4 separate regions of the Homo sapiens genome follow, and regions 1, 2 and 4 are each linked to region 3. The links are contacts of gene promoters, found by promoter capture Hi-C in blood cells and fetal thymus (Javierre and others, 2016). All regions are on one chromosome and are shown on one strand. Each heading gives the region's core, a stretch centred on a gene start or on the middle of the fragment in contact. The rest is flanking DNA. Distances are from core to core; before and after follow the strand shown. Region 1 overlaps AGO4 (argonaute RISC component 4). Region 2 holds the start of LOC105378647 (a long non-coding RNA gene). Region 3 holds the start of AGO3 (argonaute RISC catalytic component 3). Region 4 overlaps AGO3 (argonaute RISC catalytic component 3).

Region 1 (4,797 bases), core at 1,793-4,292, 100 kb after region 3:
TGGGCTCAAGCAATTCTCCCACCTCAGCCTCCCAACTAGCTGGGACAAATGCCTGGCTAATTTTTTTGTATTTTTTATAGAGGGGTCTTGCCACATTGCCCAGGCTGGTCTCGAACTCCTGGGCTCAAGGAATCCTCTTTCCTCAGCCTCCCAAAGTGTTGGGATTACAGTTGTCAGCCACCATGCCGGGTTTTAATCTTGCATTTTTTTTTTTTTTTTTTTTTTTTTTAAGATGTAGTCTCACTCTGTTGCCCAGGCTAGAGTGCAATCTCGGCTCACTGCAACCTCTGCCTCCCGGGTTCAAGTGATTCTCCTGCCTCAGCCTCCCGAGTACCTGGGATTACAGGCGCCTGCCACCATGCCTGCCACCATGCCCAGCTAATTTTTGTATTTTTAGTAGAGACAGGGTTTCACCATGTTGGCCAGGCTGGTCTTGAACTCCTGACCTCTAGTGATCTGCCTGCCTCGGCCTCCCAAAATGCTGGGATTTAGAGGCGTGAGCCACCACGCCCAGCCCGTTAATCTTCTTTTCTTAACTGCCACAGCCTTACAAAGTAGTGGTGCAGTAAGGGTCATCTATGTGATATTTAAATATATGAGTTATAATCTTTCAGCAAAGATTATATACGTCTATAAGTCTAATTATTCTAACAGGGTTATGTGAAATAATTAAATAATGAAAAGAGCACAGTTCTTGAACAAATGCTACAATTCTCAACAGTGACTTCATAAGGTTTTGGTAACTTTTTTTTTTTTTTTTCTGAGAAAGAAGTCAATGGTATAATACAAATAATACATGAAATACCAATTTACCACTCTTAAGAAATTCATGTAGTGTGTACATGAGGTCATACTGAAGAATTTATTCCAATCAGACTGAAATAATGCACTTTATTTATCCAGAAGCCATCTGAAAATTTCAACTATCTAGACAAAGCCCTCTGGGTGATTTTGATATGCACTAAAGTTTGAAAATTAAGAATCATGAATCTAAAACAAAGTCAGATTAGAATATAAGCAAAAAAAGGTGTGTGTGTGGGGGGGGGGGCTCTGAGTAACCAAAATAATGTAAATGTAGTAAAGTGTATACTGTATATTTAACTCTTTATTTAGAAGAGCCAATATTTATGTTTATGTCAGACATGATCTTGATTACAAGAATAAGATACAGATATAATTTTTAAAGCACTTTCACATATAGTGTCTCACTGAGGCACAGTTTTCAGTAGATTAGAAGTGTTGGGTGATGGGCTGGGCGCAGTGGCTCATGCCTGTAATCCCAGCACTTTGGGAGGCCGAGGCGGGTGGATTGCCTGAGGTCAGGGGTTCAAGATCAGCCTGGCCAACATAGAGGAACCCTGTCTCTACCAAAAATACAAAAAATTAGCTGGGCATGGTGGCAGGTGCCTGTAATCCCAGCTACTTGGGAGGTTGAGGCAGGAGAATCGCTTGAACCGGGGAGGTGGAGGTTGCAGTGAGCAGAGATCACGACATTGCACTCCAACCTGGGCAACAAGAGCTAAACTCTGTCTCAAAAAAAAAAAGAAGTGTTGGGTGATTAGGAAAATGAGATTGGGGAAATGGAAAGGAGTATGCTGCTGGAGGATGCCATAGACACCAACAGCTGTAAGAAGTGACAGCTACCTACAAAGGGAGGGAGAGAAATCCACACAAAACACAAAGCAATAGATGTCTTCTCCCAGCCTGGGCAACAAAGTGGGACCCCATCTCTATTAAAAATACAAAAATTAGCCAGGCATGGTGGCACATGCCTGTAGTCCCAGATACTCAGGAGGCTGAGGTGGGAGGATTGCTTGAGCCCAGGAAGCTGAGGCTGCAGTGGGCCATGACGGTGCCAAGCACTATATATATACGTGTGTCTGTATTTTTTTTAGAAGATACATACATACATATAAAATGTCTTCTCATATATTTTATTTACATGTATGTCTTCTCCTGACAGCCTTATATGATATCTAGGCCTTAATAGACCTTTTGAGCCATGTATTAAGAATTACAACAGTAGGCTGGGTGTGCTGGTTCACACCTGTAGTCCCAGCACTTTGGGAGGCCGAGGCGGGCAAACTGTTTGAGCCCAGGAATTCAAGACCAGACTGGGCAACATAGCAAAACCCCACCTCTACAAAAAAAATTAGGCGAGTGTGGTGGTGCATGCCTGTAATCCCACTACTTGGAAGTCTGAGGTGGGAGGTTCACTTGAGCCCAGAAGGTGACAGAGTGAGACCCTGTCTCCAAAAGAAAAAAAAAAAAAAAAAAAAGAATAACAACAGTATAATAAAAAAAAGCTTATAATGACTCTGCATCATTAAATAAAAAGATTAAATAAAACATAGATTAAATAAAAGTTAATCTATGTTTAACATACTCTACTTAAGAGGTAAATTGAATTAAAGGCAAGGAATGTGTTTTATAAATACCTCTACCAAAAATATTCAGAAAATGTTTTAAAACTTTGGTGTTAAAAGCAAAGATTCTCGTGATCTTGAAAATTTCAGTATAAGATAACCAATTTCTTTCTTTTTTTCTTTTGAGATGGAGTTTCACTCTGTCACCCAGGCTGGAGTACAAGGTGTGATCTTGGCTCACTGCAAACTCTGCCTCCTGGGTTCAAGCGATTCTCCTGCCTCAACCTCCCAAGCAGCTGGGATTACAAGCGCCTGCCACTAAGCCTGGCTAATTTTTGTAGTTTTTAGTAGAGACGGGGTTTCACTATGTTGGCCAGGCTGGTCTCGAACGCCTGACTTCAAGTGATCTGCCTGGCTCGGCCTCCCAAAGTGCTGAGATAACAGGTGTGAGCCACCATGCCTGGCCAAGATAACCAATTTCTTTTTATTTATTAATTTTTTTTGAGACAGGGTCTTGCTCTGTTGCCCAGGCTGGAGTGCAGTGGTGTGACCTCGGCTCACTGTAACCTCCACCTCCCAGGTTCAAACAATTCTCTGCCTCAGCCTCCCGAGTACCTGGTGTTACAGGTACCCGCCACCACGCCCAGCTAGTTTTCTTGTATTTTTAGTAGAGATGGGGTTTCACCATCTTGGCCAGGCTGGTCTTGAACTCCTGACCTCATGATCCACCTACCTCGGCCTCTCAAAGTGCTGGGATTACAGGTGTGAGCCACTGTGCCCGGCCAATAACCAATTTCTTAAAACAATTATAGTAGCTCCCTCTGTTACTAAAAATGTAATTGTATTACTTTAGATGTGGTTAACATACGTTTGATGACTGGCTGGCCGTCTAGTCACATTACAAACTCGGTATTTTCGTTTCATCTGTCCACAGTGGGTCACCTCAACTTTGAGACCTGAAATTTTTTTTAAAAGGCAAAACATCAGTTAATTAAAATCACAGTGGCAAAAACAGATTCAAATGTTGTCTTCAAAATGTCATGACATTGTACAGGATAAAAATTGCAAGAATATGGGGACAATTTCATCGTTATAGGCAAAAAACCTGAGTTAAGCAGAATAAATTAGAACTCAGATTACCTAAGATGCTCAATCTCCTTTAGTTTATTATTTCATCCAATAAATATTTATTAAGCATCAACTATGTTCTGATGCTTATTTTCAGGTCTGGAGACAGCTTTCGTGAAGTTTATATTCTAGTGAGGGAAACTAACTAATAACAAGAAGAAAAGAAATCCCAGAAGGATAATAAATGAATTTATGTTATTTTATTAAAATGGAAGTTCTTAAGTGGGTAAGCATAGCATTTACTGAGTGCCTGATATGTGACAGGTACTATGCTAGAAAGCTTTATAAGCCTAATTGCATTTAATTCTCACAACAACTCTACAAGGTATATATTATTATCTTTACCTTAGAGATGAATACACTAAGGTTCACAGTGGTTAAGGAACTTGACCAAGGTCCCATTGATAGAAGTGGTTAGCCTGAGACCGAAGCCCAGGTCTGTGTGACTCCAGAGCACAGGCAACGTGCAGCATGCTGAGCTGCTTCTCCAAGACTACATTAATGCAAACACTTACCTCTGATTTCTTTGGTAAATTTGACACGCTGGGAGTCTGTTAGAGGTTTGGTCTGTTCATTGATGTTCTGAATGTCTAAAACCTCACACATGAACTCAATGATAGGCTGAGCCCGGTAGAAAGCAGTTGCAGATACTAACAAACAGAGAAGGATACTTCACTTCAGGGAAAAGGGAAGGGCCAAAACAAACAAACAAACAAAAACCAGCCCAAAGAGTTATTGGATAAAGAGAGTTCCATCCTACCATCAATGTTGAGCATCATATTCCACATGGCAGGTCTCACAGACTGATGAAAACCAAACCAGACCTCCCTGCCCCCTCCCAGAGGGTGGTAGTAACCTTCCGGGGGTGAGAAAAAGGAACGGCCCACTGGGGTGTACCTGAAGAAATAAGAGTTTGCATGTGTCACATTAAACATGTGAAAGGTCCTTCATTTCACTCTCAACTCTGGGAGCTGAAATCAAATTTGAACAATGACTTATGCAGAAATTTTTCAATGGCTCCAGTACAACCTACCAAAAAAGTCTGACATTTGTAGGAAATAATCCAAACCAAGGTACTAACCTCATGGAGGGAAGGTGTCTTGTGATAACATCAAGTGCTTGTACTGAGTCATCTGGGACTTCATTCAAGTGCCCAGCCAAAGCTTCTAAAAGCAACTGAAGGCTCACAACTGACACCCACTGAACAGACACTTTAAATGTTTGGTCTTTACCCTCGCCTGGAAGAGTCACCTCCATATCAACCTAAGGAAAAAAATACATGAATACAAACACAAATGTTTAC
Region 2 (4,902 bases), core at 221-2,720, 89 kb before region 3:
AAAGAGAGAGGAAAGAAGGAGAGATAGATTCTGTATCATATTGTCTTTTTCAGGTCTGTTGACTAGAAAATTGAGTCTCCTCTCTATCAAATAATAAAGGTTTTGCTTTTAAAAAACCTTTTAATGATCACCTTGGCTAAATGAATGACTTATTTCACAGTGACCTGTGATCCTATTTGGGCCAAGTGTTTTCAATCTTTGACATATTGGACAAGCTTCCCCAAATCAAATTTCAAATTCAAAATTAAGTCTTTTTTTGACCTCAAATTAACTTTGGGATGTTACAGAGGTCCCCTACAACAGTCAAAAGAGATAATAAACAGGCTTATTTTATACGTAAAATTACATGAGAAACAGTGTCAAATAAGAAGTGATGTTTAAACTCCATCGAGTTATATTTTTATAAATATTAATATATATTCCAAAATTGTATAAGATTATGAAAATTCTCATGTATCTCAGTATATGTTATCAGACATAATTATGGTTATTACGTTAAACTATTGTAGGCCACAGAAATAACCAAATTTCCTTCTCAATTGTGTCTTTATGACCATTTAAAGTCATTTCCACAGTTAATTACTTAATTCTAAAGCAGTTTCTAATATTAGGTTGGTGCAAAAGTAATTGCGGTTTCTGCTGTTCAAAGTAATGGCGGCTGGGCGCAGTGGTTCACGCCTGTAATCCTAGCATTTTGGGAGGCTGAGGTGGGCAGATCACAAGGTCAGGAGTTCGAGACCAGCCTGGCCAACATGATGAAACCCCATCTCAACTAAAAATACAAAAAATTAGCCAGGCATGGTGGCACACACCTGTAATACCAGCTACTCGAGAGGCTGAGGCAGGAGAACTGCTTGACCCTGGGAGGCAGAGGTTGTAATGAGCCGAGATTGTGCCACTGCATTCCAGCCTGGGTGACAGAACGAGACTCCGTCTCTAAATAAATAAATAAATAAATAAAGTAATGGCAGGCTGGGTGCAAGTGGCTCACCCCTGTAATCCCAGCACTTTGGGAGGCCAAGGTTGGTAGACCACTTGAGGTCAGGAGTTCGAGACTAGTCTGGCCAACAAGGTGAAACCCATCTCTACTAAAAATACAAAAAAATTAGCAAGGCATGGTGGCATGCGCCTGTAGTCCCAGCTACTCGGGAATCTGAGGCAGGAGAATAGTTTCAACCAGGAAGGAGGAGGTTGCAGTGAGCCGAGATAGCACCACTGCACTCCAGCTTGGATGACAGAGCGAGATTCCGTCTCAATAAATAAATAAATAAATAAATAAATGTATGGCAGTTATTAAAAATAACTTCACAAGCAAATAAAATCCTATTTTGTCTTCAAGGAGGTTAATGGAAAAGATGAAATGGACCTTGGTAAGCACTCCTGAAGATAGGTTTCTGGTAACTTTAGGATCATATCGTTTGGACTGAGTAAGAATTACCAGAACCATATTGAAGAGACAGAGTGATATATAAAACTGCTAACTCAAGCAGCACAAGAATTAAATGAATACCAAGAAAATACTTGGCCAGATTTTCATGCTAACTCAGTCAGTACTGAAACTATTAAGATACATAATTTGAATGAACTCCATGGTCCAGGTCAAACTACCTATGATAACCCATCTAATAAACAGTGCTGTGCACCTCCATTGGAGAAAGAAAATTGCTATGTAAGAGGATACAATTCCAGTGTTAAGCATGGACTCATGGAGAGAGACTGGACAGCCGGCTGCCTGCTCCTTCCTGAGTCCTTAAAAATTCCATTACTAGAAGCTGTATTCCATGATTCATCAAGGAAGAGATAAAATGTATATACTGGCCGGGCATGGTGGCTCACACCTGTAATCCCAGCACTTTGGGAGGCCAAGGTGGGCTGATCACCTGAGGTCAGGAGTTTTAGACCACCTGGGCCAACACGGTGAAAGCCTGTCTCTACTTAAAAAATACAAAAAATTAGCTGGGTGTGGTGGCAGGTACTTGCAATCCCAGCTACTTGGGAGGCTGAGGCACAAGAATTGCTTGAACCCGGGAGGTGGAAGTTGCAGTGAGCCGAGATCGCACCACTGCACTCTAGCCTGGGTGACAGAGTGAGACTATGTCTCAAAACAAACAAACAAACAAACAAACACCTTACATATATATTGGTGTTGTGACTGTTCTAAATTGCTAAAATGGTTTATGACCAATGTATAGTTTGTCAAACCCATAATCTTGAGAAGACAACCAAAACTTCAGGTACCTTTCTGCTACATCTGAACACTTTACAGAGGGATTTCATTCAATTGTGATTTTCAGTGCATATTTTCTGGTTGTACAGGAGCTTTCTCATACAAGTGGGCTGATGCTATAACAGCAGCTAAAAGGTTATTAGGAAATGTGTTTCTCTCATAGAACATTGCTGAAGAAATCTCCAGTGATAGAGATACTTGCCTCACTGGACTGGCTGTAAAACAGTTAAATAAGGTATTACAGATATAAGAGCATTAGGCAAAACTAACTGAATAATCTGGATTGCCTTGGTCAAAGATGTTTCAGATTGATGACAAACAGATCCACTTCCATGGGAAAACAAAAGTTGAACCCTTATGAAATAGTCACTGGAAGGCTTATGCTCCTAATAACAGAACCTTCTGTATCTTATGCTCCTAAACCTTAACGTGACTAAATGCTGCAAGGCTGTAATGTATTATGCCAAAGTGTATTTTCACCAGGTAAAGAAAGCTTTTCATGGACCACTGACTCAGGACAAGCAAACCCTTCATGATATAGAATTCAGAGGCTGGATCTTTTGGAAACACATCAGAGAAAGACTCCCCTTGTCACCCACACTGCAGCGAAACTTCAGGACCCTGAAGCTTGGGTTTGTAATCTCACAACTTAGAAAGGCCCACCCAGACTCTTGGAACCACACACCCATCAGAGGGAGAACTTAAGGTAAAGCTAATGAGGTAAGTTTCTCCCGAGAAGCAGATGGCCTCCTAGATGTGGACAGATTTCCCAAGATTGTGGATCAAGACTTCTCTGCTATCATGAGGCTTTTGGCTCTCAATTTTTTCCAAGTTCATGCCTGTTATGAACAACTAAACTGAAAAAGGGGTCTCTTGTGTACACTCACAAGGTATACTTTTATTTGTGAAGGATAAAAAAAACCTCATATTGGCCAGGTGTGGTGGCTCATGCCTGTAATCCCAGCACTTTGGGAGGCCAAGGCGGGTGAATCACGAGGTCAGGAGATCGAGACCATCCTGGCCAACATGGTGAAACCCCATCTCTACTAAAATACAAAAAATTAGCCAGGCATGGTGGCACATGCCTGTAGTCCCAGCTACTCAAGAGGCTGAGGCAGGGGAATTGCTTGAACCCGGGAGATGGAGGTTGCAGTGAGCCAAGATCACAGCCTGGTGACAGAGCAAGACTCCGTCTCAAAACAAAAACCAAAAAACAAAAAAAAACAAAAACCCTCACACACAGAGAAGTTTACGCCTTGATAGAGGGAAGATGAAGGGCCAATGTGGGTGAGAAATTTTAATGGTACCTTTTTTGCTTCATAATCAGTCAGAAACAGAGCACTGGTCAACTCCTCTTAACCTACATCATAATTTAAAGAGAAAATTGTCGGCCAGGCATGGTGGCTCACAACTGTAATCTCAGCAGTTTGGGAGGCCGAGGTGGGCAGATCACGAGGTCAAGAGATGGAGACCATCCTGGCTAACGTGGTGAAACCCCGCTCTACTAAGAATACAAAAAATTAGTTGGGCGTGGTGGTACGTGCCTGTTCTACTTGGGAGGCTGAGGCAGGACAATTGTTTGATCCCGGGAGGCAGAGGCTGCAGTGAGCCGAGATCATGCCACTGCACTCCAGCCTCAAAAAAAAAAAGAGAACATTGTCAATACAGGTTAAAGAGAATAGTGCCAGGAGGCCTTCACTCTTCTGGATGGGCATTATTTGTTAGTTTATTTTTCTATGGTGTGTTTTTTCCTTTTTGGAGACAGGGTCTGGCTCTGCTGCCCAGGCTGGGATGCAGTGGCGTGATCTCGGCTCACTGCAACCTCTGCCTCCTGGGCTCAAGCAATCCTCCCACTTCAGCCTCCTGAGTAGCTGGGACCACAGGCGTGCACCACTGTGCTCGGATTATTTTTGAATTTTCAGTAGAGACAGGGTTTTGCCATGTTGCCTAGGCTGGTCTTGAACTCCTGAGCTCAAGCAATCTGCCCACCTCAGCCTCCCAAAGTGATTGCAGATTACAGGTGTGAGCCACTGCGCCTGGCCTATGGTTTGGAGTTAATGTAATGAGGCAATGATTAGAAATTTATCTCTCTAAATTTTCTAGCCTATTAGAAATTTATAGGCTCTTTAGCAGATTCTACTGCAAAGACTATGGTTATACAAGAGACTTTAAATTATCTTGCTAAAGTTGTGCTAGATAATAGAATTGCTCTAGATTACTTACTGGCTAAACAGAAGTATCTGTGCAGCTGCTGCTACTTCTTATTGAACATGGAGGAATACATTGGATATTAACAGATTCAGTCGTAGGGGATTAACAAACAGGGTGCTTGGTTGAAACAAGTAGACTCTTATTCTAGCTTATTCTTCGATCTATTTGATTTTAGGTGGCTTGGTTCATGGGGACCTTGGCTAAGGAGCATACTCCAAACTCTTAGGGTTATTCTCCTGAGAGTCATAATAGTAGTCTCCCTGGGATACTATATTCTCTCAAAAGTTTTAAGTGTTTGCATATGGCCATCTGTAGGATGTCAAATGGTCTCTCTTGAATTGGAACAGAAACTCAAAGAAATGTATGAGCATGAGGAACACCATACTTATAAATGACGTACTGAGACCAGAAACCCAAAATCTTGGTAACAGAGTGGTGCTAAGGTCCTAAGTTTTGGTCACACT
Region 3 (5,499 bases), core at 2,878-5,377:
TTTTTGTTTTCCCTCGGAGTCCCTTCATTGAAAGAGAAATTCTAAACCAAATATCAAAACAATCTTGCACATTTTTATAAGTCCCACTGCCAGTCAAGTGCAATAAATATATTTTTTTTAAGTCATAATGGTCACTCCAGGGCAGCATAAGCCAAAATTTAAGTGACAACCCAGTAGAAAAACCTTTATCACTTTCAAAATTCATGCCCACAGACAGAGCAGTAATTTGATTTTTTTTCTTCAAGGCAAAGAACTACAAGTGAGAAAATTTATATAACGACAAAAACATTTCTCAAAGTTATTAAAGAAGATTGTTTTCTGGGAGGCCGAGGCAGGCAGATCACCTGAGGTCAGGAGTTCAAGACCAGCCTGGCCAACATGGTGAAACCCCGTCTCTACTAAAAATACAAAAAATTAGCCAGGCATGGTGGTGCGCGCCTGTAATCCCATCTACTCGGGAGGCTGAGACAAGAGAATCACTTGAACCCAGGAGGCAGAGGCTGCAGTGAGCCAATATCATGCCACTGCACTCCAGCCTAGGCGACAGAGCAAGCAAGACTCCATCTCAAAAAAAATAAATAAATAAAAAGAAGATTGTTTTAAATACTAAATTGGGACCCTGATGGCATTACATATTTTAGTAGGTATTTTTGACCCATAATTTTTATCTACATCATTCAAATCCCAATCTTGATTTAGTTCTAGCTTCCCATATATGCAACTTTTATTCCTTTGGAACTTGGTTCCAAATAACTTTTCTAAAACTTTTATTATTAAATAAACACAGAACTCTAAAACAACTATTTTCAGACATGAATTTAAAAGTGTAAATAAGAAAGAAACAGTCTATTCACTTTTGCAAGACTGTATAAAACTTCCACCAAACATCAAACAATTTGCATGTCATTAATTTAAGGTAAAAGTAAATGTTTTTCTTCCATTATAAAGTGTAGTTCCTCTGTCCTAAACGGTAGTCTAACATTACCTGAAAACATAGACTAGAATAGTATGGACCTAAAAAATGAGTACTCAGGAGAAGTAACATCATCAAGCATTTCTGCAGCTCCCTATTCCCACTTTATTTAGAACTGAAACATAACCTATACTCTTAGTTCAGCAGTAATTAGACCATAAAAAACGGTGTTTCATCAGATGTTCCCCAACTAAAGAGTCACAGACACAGATGTTAAACTGTTGATTAATTTTTAACTAATTTCACCTTTTTTTTTGTTAAATCAAAGTTCTGATGGTACTAAATCAGTAGATTGCACAAGATATCCTTAAAAAGCATTTAAAATATTTCATATGAAAGAACAAATACTAACTTATATGGTATTTGTGTTCGAGGTTCCCTAATGTAAACAAATTTAACAGTTTTCTGTGTATCCACCGAGCAACTAGAATTTAAAATATCCTATCACAAGATGATTCCTGAGAATCTCCACAAAAAAGAAAAACTTATGGCAGAATTGGAAAGCCAAGATTCAATACTGAGTCAATAGACTTTTTGAGAACATTTATACTAAAATTTTAAAATCAAAATACGTGTCAAATGATGATTTTTTTTTTTTTTTTTTTTTTTTTTTTTTTTGAGACAGGGTCTTGCTCCGTCACCCAGGCTGGAGTTAGTGGCGCGATCATAGCTCACTGCAATCTCTGCCTTCTGGGCTCAATCCATTCTCCTGCCTCAGCCTCCCAAGTAGCTAGGACTGGAGACATGTGCCACAATTCTCGGCTAAGTTTTCTGTTTTTTGTAGAGGCAGGTCTCACTATGTTACCTAGGCTGGTCTCCAACTGCTGGGCTCAAGCGATCATCCTTCCTCAGCCTCCCAAAGTGCTGAGATTACAGGCATGAACCACCACACCCAGCCTAAATTATGGATTTAAAATTTAGTTGCACAGCTATGCTTTCAACTTAAAGCTAAGCATACCAATTATATACAAGTCTCAGGAATAATGAAAATTTTGTTTCTGATGACAATCTTGAGCCAAAGTATAGCTTATCTTCATTATTAGGCTACATTCAATCATGTATAAACTGTACTGAAGAAAAAACTTTACTTTTCAAGAGACCCAGGCATATAGTTGATAATCTAACTACACACTTCCCCAAATGTGAAGACAGCTAAATGGGTATCCATTTCAGCAATGGGACACCCAAAAAAGAAGAGGTAAAATGTATTTTCTGAGCTGTACTTGGCTTAGTTGTACCAGTTGACTAGGTGGTTTGATGTAACAAATGTTTTCTAAGACATTTCCCATATATATGGGCACAATATCATATGAAAAACCCTAAGGAGAAAAAGAAAAAACTTTAAAAACTTTTTTGAAATATCTTTAAAAGTTTTGGGATGATTAATAAAGGGTCTGACCTTCATGACTTGTTTTCCAGACTTGACAACAGGACAGTTATGTACAAAGATCACCTATGGTCCCAAATAATCACATCTCCTGTACAGTAAAACAGTAGTATGGTAATTTTTTTAAAAGGGCAGGACAGTTTCAGAAATACACAAATCAAAACTGAATAAGAGTCGAAATCTTTTCACAATCCAGACAGACCTTTTAAGACGATATGGGGGAAAGCGAAACAATGGAGCAGGAAAAAGAGATATGGTCTAAATTGATTAGAGAAACTTCCATGTAACAAAATTTGTAAAAAAAAAAAAAAAAAATTTGTAACTCTCTCCCCATCTCATCTCCCCAGTTTGAGTGCTTTTTTGCAACCATTTGACACGTAATCTATTCAACAAAGTTCTTAGCTATCGTTATGTCACTGGTTTCTTTTACGTAAGTTTTTCTTATATCAAATTGGCAAAAAGAGATATGGAATTCAGGAACTTGTAACACCATTAGTAACAAGACAGCCCCGCAAATATTTTGAAAATTAATTTACGAACTTGTGATCGTCTGAAGCATACTTTCAAATTTAATAAGCCAAGCATGATCATTTGTTAGGCAAACCGTTATGCAACACCTTTCTGTCCCTGAATTAATTACTTTAGAACCATAAACAATACTTTTCCTTTTTTAAGGACAAGTACTATCCATGTTGCAATTTTCTCTTAAGACTGCAAAACTGCTGCTCTTGCCCCCAGAGATAAAGCAGTTTTCTTAAATTCCAAATTTCCAGGAATATGACAACTACTTCTCTAAGGAATAGAGAATGAAAAAAAATATACTGTCAGCAATTTTAAGAACCACCTCCTCGTATAAGCAGGGATCCAGGCTGCTATGACATTTCCAAGCTCCTCAGAAACTATCTACCATGCTGCCACAAACAACAGAAAAGAACTCGAGGGTAGGAGCAATGCCATGTTGAATTTAACGTTGCACCAACACCTCCTTCGAACTTAATCTGAAGTTATCCGTTATCTCAGCCTATCTTCACAACTATCCTAAGAGGTAGGTAAGGGAGCTGGCTGGCTGCCCAGCCTCTACGGAACACACAACCTGGCTAAAGGACACGCACTCCAACTAGACAATGGCAAACCATTCTAAAGTCTAGAAGAAGGGTACTCCAGCAAAGAGTAATGCCGCCTAGATAACCCCAAACTTAAATCCTCCAAGCGTTTCCCCGCCTCGCAGTTTCGCCGACTCAGGGGCCCCCGGGGAACTGGGGCTGGGCTGCGGGGAGGTCGCGGAGGAGCAGGGCGAGGGGCGGGAGACCGAGCGATGCCCGCCCGACGCTCACCTCGCGCACCTGGGCCGGGCGGGAGGAGCAGGGATGCTCAGAGGACAGTAGCTGGGTGACATCCCCTACCTGGCCCAGCTACTCTGACTCACCTGCGGAGCCGATTTCCATTCATGGAGCTGGGGGGAGTGCTTCGAGGGAGAACGGAGCCCGCCACTGGCGGCAAGGAGGCGGCCCGGGGGGCGACGCGGCGCGACGCGACGGGCACTCTCACTCGGCCCCGAGGCGGGGGCGGCGACGGCTTCCCCTGAGCAACCGCACTCCGAAAGCTCTGGGCCGGAAGAGTCGCGGACGGAAAACGGCACAGGACTAGGCGAGAGGAAGGGGAGATGTGAGGCGCGGACAGAGGGGAGTCCCGTCCGGAAGTTGCATCGCCCGCGGCCGCCGACGCTCCCACCGCTCCTCCACGACTGCGGGCCGCCGCCGCCGACCTGCCCGGGGCCGCCCCGGAAGCTCGCCGGCGTCAGTTCCGCTGCCTGGCTTGCCCGGCGTCCTCGCCTCGCCTCTGGGCCCCGAGCCGTGCCGGAGCGACGTCGGGGCAGGAGCGGCCGGCGCGGAGGACGCCGGGGAGGTGTCCGGGAGCCGGGCCACATGCGGCGGGCTCGGCCGTACCCCGCCGGGCCGTGCCGGCCGGAGACAACGCGGAGGGGCAGGACTACTCGCGCCGCACGAGTGGGGGCGGTGCCTGTCTGCGACGACGTCGCGGCTGGCGGCGGGGCTTACCTGAGGAGTAGCCTACCTGGAGCCGGCGGGTGAAGGACCCCGAACTGCCGCGGAGGCCCCGAGCCGAGCCCGCTGGGGTAGGGCCACCCTCCTTCCTGAGCCCCCGCCACGCCCAGTCCGATCCACCCCACGCGCCGCCTCCTCACAGGCGGTCAAGTGACCACCGCAATTGACCTAAGTCCTAGGCTGCTTTAACGACCATTTTTAGGAAAAAAAAAATGTATTATAGTTTGGAAAAGATGACTAACAAACAGGACACTACACAAACATCAGATCGAGTAATTTCCATGTTTAAAACTCTTTAATAGCGCCTCGTCACACTTGAAAACCCAAACTCCTTTCCAGGGTGAAAACGCACGGCGTAAATGGGCCCCGCCTGTGCTACAGCTATACTGGTTGGCTTCCAATTCTCCCAACGGGCCAACCGCTGCTTTTTTCTGACTTGGAGCTTCTCTGCTTTTGGTTCCCTTGGCCAGGAACCCTCTCTCTCTTCTCCACCCTCCCCTTACGCCCTACCCCACAGCTTTTTTTTGCGTCTCAACGAAAGACATCTGAGACGCCTTTTCCGGACCACCCATCTATGGTGGGGCACCTGTTAGTCTACTACAGTATTGCCTTGGTAGCCCTTTGCCCAGTCTGTTATTTATTTACTACTTGTGTGCCCCCCACCTCACTTGAATGTCAGGCAAATATTAGGTCCTTAATAAATATTTGTTGCCTTAATGAAACATACTATTTTATTCAGGCTGAGGAATCATTCATAATTTCTCCCCATGTCCCTATGCTTCAGTAATACGGTTTTTTTTAATCAAAATAATTTTTTAAAGAGGAAAAGGAGAAAGAATATCCTATCTTCAGTTCCCCTCACTGTGGGACTTTGGATCAGTCACTTGATCTCTCTGGGCTTCAATTTTCTTATCTGAAAAATTGAGAGAACAGCATGTACCTTACACAGTTTGTAAGGTTAGGTAATATACATAAAGCACAGAGAAAATCCTCCCCAAATGTTAGTGAATAACACAAGTATTTACTATTTACCATTTTAAAGTACTTACCATATAATATTAAACAATAAATGTATG
Region 4 (5,260 bases), core at 1,606-4,105, 110 kb before region 3:
TGGCTCATGTCTGTAATCCCAGCACTTTGGTAGGCTGAGGTGGGCGGATTGCCTGAGGTCAGGAGTTCGACACCAGCCTGGCCATCATGGTGAAATCCCATCTCTACTAAAAATGCAAAAATTAGCTCGGCATGGTGGTGGGTGCCTGTAGTCCCAGCTACTTGGGAGGCTGAGGCAGGAGAATTGCTTGAACCTGGGAGACAGAGGTTGCAGTGAGCCAAGATCACACTACTGTACTCCAGCCTGGGTGACAGAGTGAGACTCCGTTAAAAAAAAAAAATGTAGTTGTTTATCTGTTTTTCTGGCTTTCTTTGTGAGGGGAGCAAGCACTAGGGGCTTCTAGTCAGCCATCTTGCTGACATCACTTCCTCTGGACCTCCCATTAACCACCAACCCTGAAAATGTACAACATTAATTGTAAAGAGGAGCTGATATAAGAACATGGATAAATGAGTCAGACAATAATTTAAAGCCATGAATCTGAAACAGGTTCGTATATGTGGGACATATAAAGCTATAAGATACAGAGCTGTATGGTAAGGTACATCTGGAAATTTCTATCTTAATCAATAATGGCAAGTAACCTAAAATAGTTTTGGGTTATAGACTCTCAGACATCCTGGGAATGTCAGTTTACTTTTTGTTGTTGGAAAGTTTGAGATGCACTGATTTAAAGCTTATGTTCCACCAAGTAAAGCTAACACATTAATGAAAAGGTTTTCTGGAAAGAATAAGAAAAACTTTTTAAATTATTTAACTGAAACTTAAGGCCAGGTGCAGTGGCTCAAGCCTGTAATCCCCGCACTTTGGGAGGCCAAGGTGGGCGGATTACTTGAGGTCAGGAGTTTGAGACCAGCCTGGCCAACATGGTGAAACCCTGTCTCTACTAGAAAAAATAAAAATAAAAAAATTACTGGGTGTGGTGGCACCCAGTAATCTCAGTCTGTAATCCCAGCTACTAGGGAGGCTGAGGCATGAGAGTCACTTGAACCTGGGAGGCGGAGCTTGCAGTGAGCCGAGATCATGCCACTGTACTCCAGCCTGGGCAACAGAGTGAGACTCTGTCTCAAAAACAAACAAACAAACAAACAAAACAAAACAACAACAACAACAAAAAAAAACTAAAGCTGTAATTCTACAATTAAATTTTTTTTTATTTTTTGAGACAAGGTCTGGCTCCGTCACCTAGCCTGGAGTGCAGTGGCATGATTTTGGCTCATGGCAACCTCCCTCTGCCTCCGCGCTCAAGTGATCCTCCCACGACAGCCTCCTGAATAGCTGAGACTACAGGCACGTGCTACCACACCTGGCTAATTTTTATATTTTTTGTAGAGACGGGGTTTCTCTATGTTGCCCAGGCTGGTCTCAAACTCCTGAACTCAAGCAATCTGCCCATCTCAGCCTCCCAAAGTGTTGGAATTATAGGCGTGAGCCACCATGCCCAGCCCAATTAAACTCTTTCACATGCTTAATACTACTAGTACATGTCAAAGTTTTCTATAAAATGTTATCGTCATTAGCTGAGTGTGGAGGCCTGTTGTCCCAACTACTTGGGAGGCTGAGGTGGGAGGACTGCTTGAGCCCAAGAGTTCTAGTCTAGCCTGAGCAAAATAGTGCTTTCTCTTTCTCTCTCTCTCTTTTTTTTTTAAAGATGCATATGCTAAAGGAACAATCAGGTACTTTCACATTTTTTAACATTTTAGTGAAATTAAGGGCCTGTTTTAGGGAGATTCATTCTATTAAACTACTTATATTCTGGTATTTTCATAAAAATAAGTTCCTAAGCCCCTCTCAAGGTAAGGAAAGGGAAGACATTTGTTTACTGAAAGTTTCATCTAATTTCATGTGGAAACAATTTGGAATGCAAAGAGTATTTCTTTATCCTTTTTCTGAGATTTAAAAAATACACGTAAGAATGACAGTTCTTGAATTAAAATATTTTACCCAAAGTGTAGGCTTACCTGTATTCCAGCATGGCTACAGAGGTAAAAATCGAACTCATATGGGTGTGTAATGTCTGTATCAACTGTTGTTCCAGCTGGGATATTGCCACTTCTTCCAACCTAGATTTGTTTGGTTAAAGTTTAAACAAACAAGAAAAAGGTAAAAATATATCTGAAAGCACTTTAAAAAATGTATGAATACATAGGCTGATCCTACATTTCACTACTTTCACCTTGAAATATGACTTAAGCAGTCATTCAGAGCAGACTACGCAGGTCCTAGTTCCTATTCTTACATGTTGCTGAAAGTGAGCGCTGATACACAACAAAACCTAATACAGTCTCTACTACTGCTTAGCTGATAGTTGACCCCACTATGGGTGGAAGACACTAAAAAAAATTTTTTTTAAATTAACTTAAAGTGCTCCAATTTATGGTACCTGTGCATAGTAGGTATTCTTGAACGTGTGATTTATGAAGATCAGCATTTACCTTGGAGAAAACTAGATGTTTAGAGAGAGAGAATGCTGACAAGATCAACAACAGTCACACCATTTGTTAACCATTTATGGATCAGGCACTTTGAACACATTATTTCTAAAACCTGGTAACAATCCTGCAAGTTAGGGATTATTTCCATTTGTTTAGGGAAATAAAGGCTCAGGAATACAAAATAATTTGCTCAATAGCACACAATAAAGGGCAGAACTGGGATTCAAACAATGAAATAATTGCAAAGGCCTTATTCCTTTTATTTCATACTATCAGTTTCAACATCTTGTAAGAGGACACCATGATTTTCTCTGAGTGGATATAATATAACTGAAATGACCCAAAATTCTTGATGATACAAGCTCCTTATAAAACACTTAAAAATGTTTATTATACCCACCTCCACCGCCTTATCCCAACACATTTAAAATCATTAACTGTAAGTCTAGGTTTACAAGGCTAGCAAATCAGAAACTATTTTACTGACTCAGATAATATTTTTGCCACGTGAGTGACTGTTATAAGGTAGTACCTTGAATTATAGTGGTGTGGACCAACCAGCTTCACTTTACCAAGCACAAAACAAAACAGTTCATAATCTACTAAATTATGCCTGGTCCTAAAAAAATACTTAACTCTAATAAATTAGCAACACGTAAATCTTCTAATTAATATATACAAAAAGTTGTAGGCTGGGTGTGATGGCTCACACCTATAATCCTAGCACTTTGGGAGGCCGAGGTGGGCGGATCATTTGAAACCAGGAGTTTGTGACCAGCCTGGCCAACATGGTGAAATCCTGCCTCTAATAAGACTACAAAAATTAGCCGGGTGTGGTGGCACATGCCTGTAATCCCAGCTACTCAGGAGGCTGAGGCCTGACAATCACTTGAACCCAGGAGGTGGGGGCTGCAGTGAGCCAAAGTCATGCCACTGCACTCCAGCCTGGGCAACAGAGCAAAACTGTCAAAAAAAACAAAAACAAAAAAATACAACTATCTCATAATCTTGTTGGTGAGGATTAAATTGATGAAATTTATAAGCAATACTTAGAACAATATCTATTATTATTTCTTCTTCTCTATTCTACCACTATCACCACCACTCTGCAGCTAGCCAAACTTTATTTATTAATTTTTTTTTGTTCTCATCACTCTACTAATGAGAGCTAGCCAATCTTTACTGAGTACTTAGTGTGGGCCAAGCCCTGTTCTAAGTGCATTACGTATTTTATTTAATTCTCCCGACAACCCAAATAAGGTAGATATTAATATTATCCAATCTTGCTAAGAAATAAACAGACACAGAGATGTTAAGTTGCTTGCCCAAAGGAATACAGTGAGTATGTATGGCAAAGAAAAACACCCCTCTCTTAGTCCTTTCTATCAAATCCCTTTCTCAAGGGGAAACAACACTTGGTATCATTAGATTTCTCTGCTCCAAGATTTACAGGATGGGGGCAGATGTGATCAGAGCACTGAAAATGACAGTAAGACTGCTGTCTTGCTGCACACAGATAAGAAAACATATTTCTGGCCGGGCGCAGTGGCTCACACCTGTAATCCCAGCACTTTGGCAGGCCGAGGCAGGCGGATCACAAAGTGAGGAGATCGAGACCGTCCTGGCTAACACGGTGAAACCCTGTCTCTACTAAAAATACAAAAAATTAGCCGGGCATGGTGGCAGGCGCCTGTAGTCCCAGCTACTCAGGAGGCTGAGGCAGAAGAATGGCGTGAACCTGGGAGGCGGAGCTTGCAGCGAGCTGAGATCGCGCCACCGCACTCCAACCTGGGCGACAGAGTGAGACTCCGTCTCAAAAAAAAAAAAAAAAAAAAAAAAGAAAACATATTTCCTTAGGTATTTATACCTCTCTTTCCTTCCTAATTATAAAAAATATACATTCACATTATAAAATGCATAAAATAATTCTGTGAACTTTAAAGGAAACATGGCTAAAAGTTAGTTTGTATAAATTTCCACTTTTTTTTTTTTTTTTTTTTTTGAGATGGAGTTTTGCTCTCTTGCCCAGGCTGGAGTACAGTGGCACCATCTCGGCTCACTGCAACCTCTGCCTCCTGGGTTCAAGTGATTCTCCTGCCTCAGTCTCCCGAGTAGCTGGGATTACAGATGTGCGCCACCACACCTGGCTATTTTTTGTATTTTTAGTAGAGACAGGGTTTCACCGTGTTGGCCAGGCTGGTCTTGAACTCCTGACCTCAAGTGATCTGCCTGCCTTGGCCTCCCAAGGTGCTGGAATTACAGGTGTGAGCCACTGTGCCTGGCCTGAATTTCCACTTTTTTAAAAAACTAATTTGTATGAGATATTTTAAAAAGAGAATGTACTGTTTTTTCTGAAGATTTTAGGAAAATATGAATAGAAGAATAATTTTAAAACCATGAGTTTCTTCACAACAAAAAAGTAGAATGAGATTTTGAATATTTGGAGTGTGACTAGAAATTCTAGAAAGTTAAAAATAATCTATTTTGATGCTTCTATACTCATAATGTAATTGTTGAAATTTGCTACTATATATTGGAAATCCTGCTGTTGGCAGAGGGCCCTTGTTGAATGCTCTATGAACTATGTTGGATAAGCTTGGTTTATAACAGTATTACAACAGAGGTGAGATTACCCTTTCTGTCCTATCAGCACAAAATAATCGAGTGTGATGTCTCTTCTGAACTACAATGTAGGTTATTCCAGGTTGATAGTCTTTCTCCAAACTGATGCAGGCTTCTCGAATTGCTAGTAGTTCATAATATAATACCTAGAGAATATGAAATGGAAAGATTCAATATAGTCAGCTATTTGTTTTTATATACTT

Evidence for each region. Contacts are between HindIII fragments. The CHiCAGO score rates a contact against its expected background, and 5 or more counts as called.
Region 1: a contact is called between a fragment that was not itself captured here and the fragment with the promoter of AGO3 in region 3, in 2 of 17 cell types (M0 macrophages and M1 macrophages). The highest score is 7.5, in M0 macrophages.
Region 2: a fragment that was not itself captured here is called in contact with the fragment with the promoter of AGO3 in region 3 in 1 of 17 cell types (M1 macrophages); the score reaches 5.3 in M1 macrophages.
Region 4: a fragment that was not itself captured here is called in contact with the fragment with the promoter of AGO3 in region 3 in 2 of 17 cell types (M1 macrophages and M2 macrophages); the score reaches 5.4 in M1 macrophages.

Annotation. Positions count from the first base shown.
Region 1 is chr1:35,825,273-35,830,069 of GRCh38, reverse strand. AGO4 (argonaute RISC component 4) reads right to left here. Exons shown (of 18, transcript NM_017629.4): 4 at 4,576-4,757; 5 at 4,255-4,391; 6 at 4,010-4,144; 7 at 3,235-3,322. Among named protein-coding and RNA genes, the nearest start is that of AGO4, 20 kb to the right of the region's middle. The HindIII fragment of the contact is 1,468 bases long and covers 2,309-3,776 here.
Region 2 is chr1:36,016,986-36,021,887 of GRCh38, reverse strand. The region is part of intron 11 of AGO3 (argonaute RISC catalytic component 3); the gene reads right to left. It overlaps LOC105378647 (a long non-coding RNA gene), which reads left to right and starts at 227. Exons shown (of 3, transcript XR_001737972.2): 1 at 227-2,947. The HindIII fragment of the contact is 2,505 bases long and covers 218-2,722 here.
Region 3 is chr1:35,929,733-35,935,231 of GRCh38, reverse strand. It overlaps AGO3 (argonaute RISC catalytic component 3), which reads right to left and starts at 4,127. Exons shown (of 19, transcript NM_024852.4): 1 at 3,787-4,127. The coding sequence starts at 3,805. It overlaps AGO1 (argonaute RISC component 1), which reads right to left. Exons shown (of 19, transcript NM_012199.5): 19 at 4,700-5,499. RefSeq lists enhancers at 2,940-3,462, 3,463-3,987, 3,988-4,511 and silencers at 3,625-3,964, 3,975-4,484. The HindIII fragment of the contact is 14,155 bases long and covers 1-5,499 here.
Region 4 is chr1:36,040,250-36,045,509 of GRCh38, reverse strand. It overlaps AGO3 (argonaute RISC catalytic component 3), which reads right to left. Exons shown (of 19, transcript NM_024852.4): 16 at 5,069-5,203; 17 at 1,962-2,063. Among named protein-coding and RNA genes, the nearest start is that of TEKT2, 41 kb to the left of the region's middle. The HindIII fragment of the contact is 4,354 bases long and covers 679-5,032 here.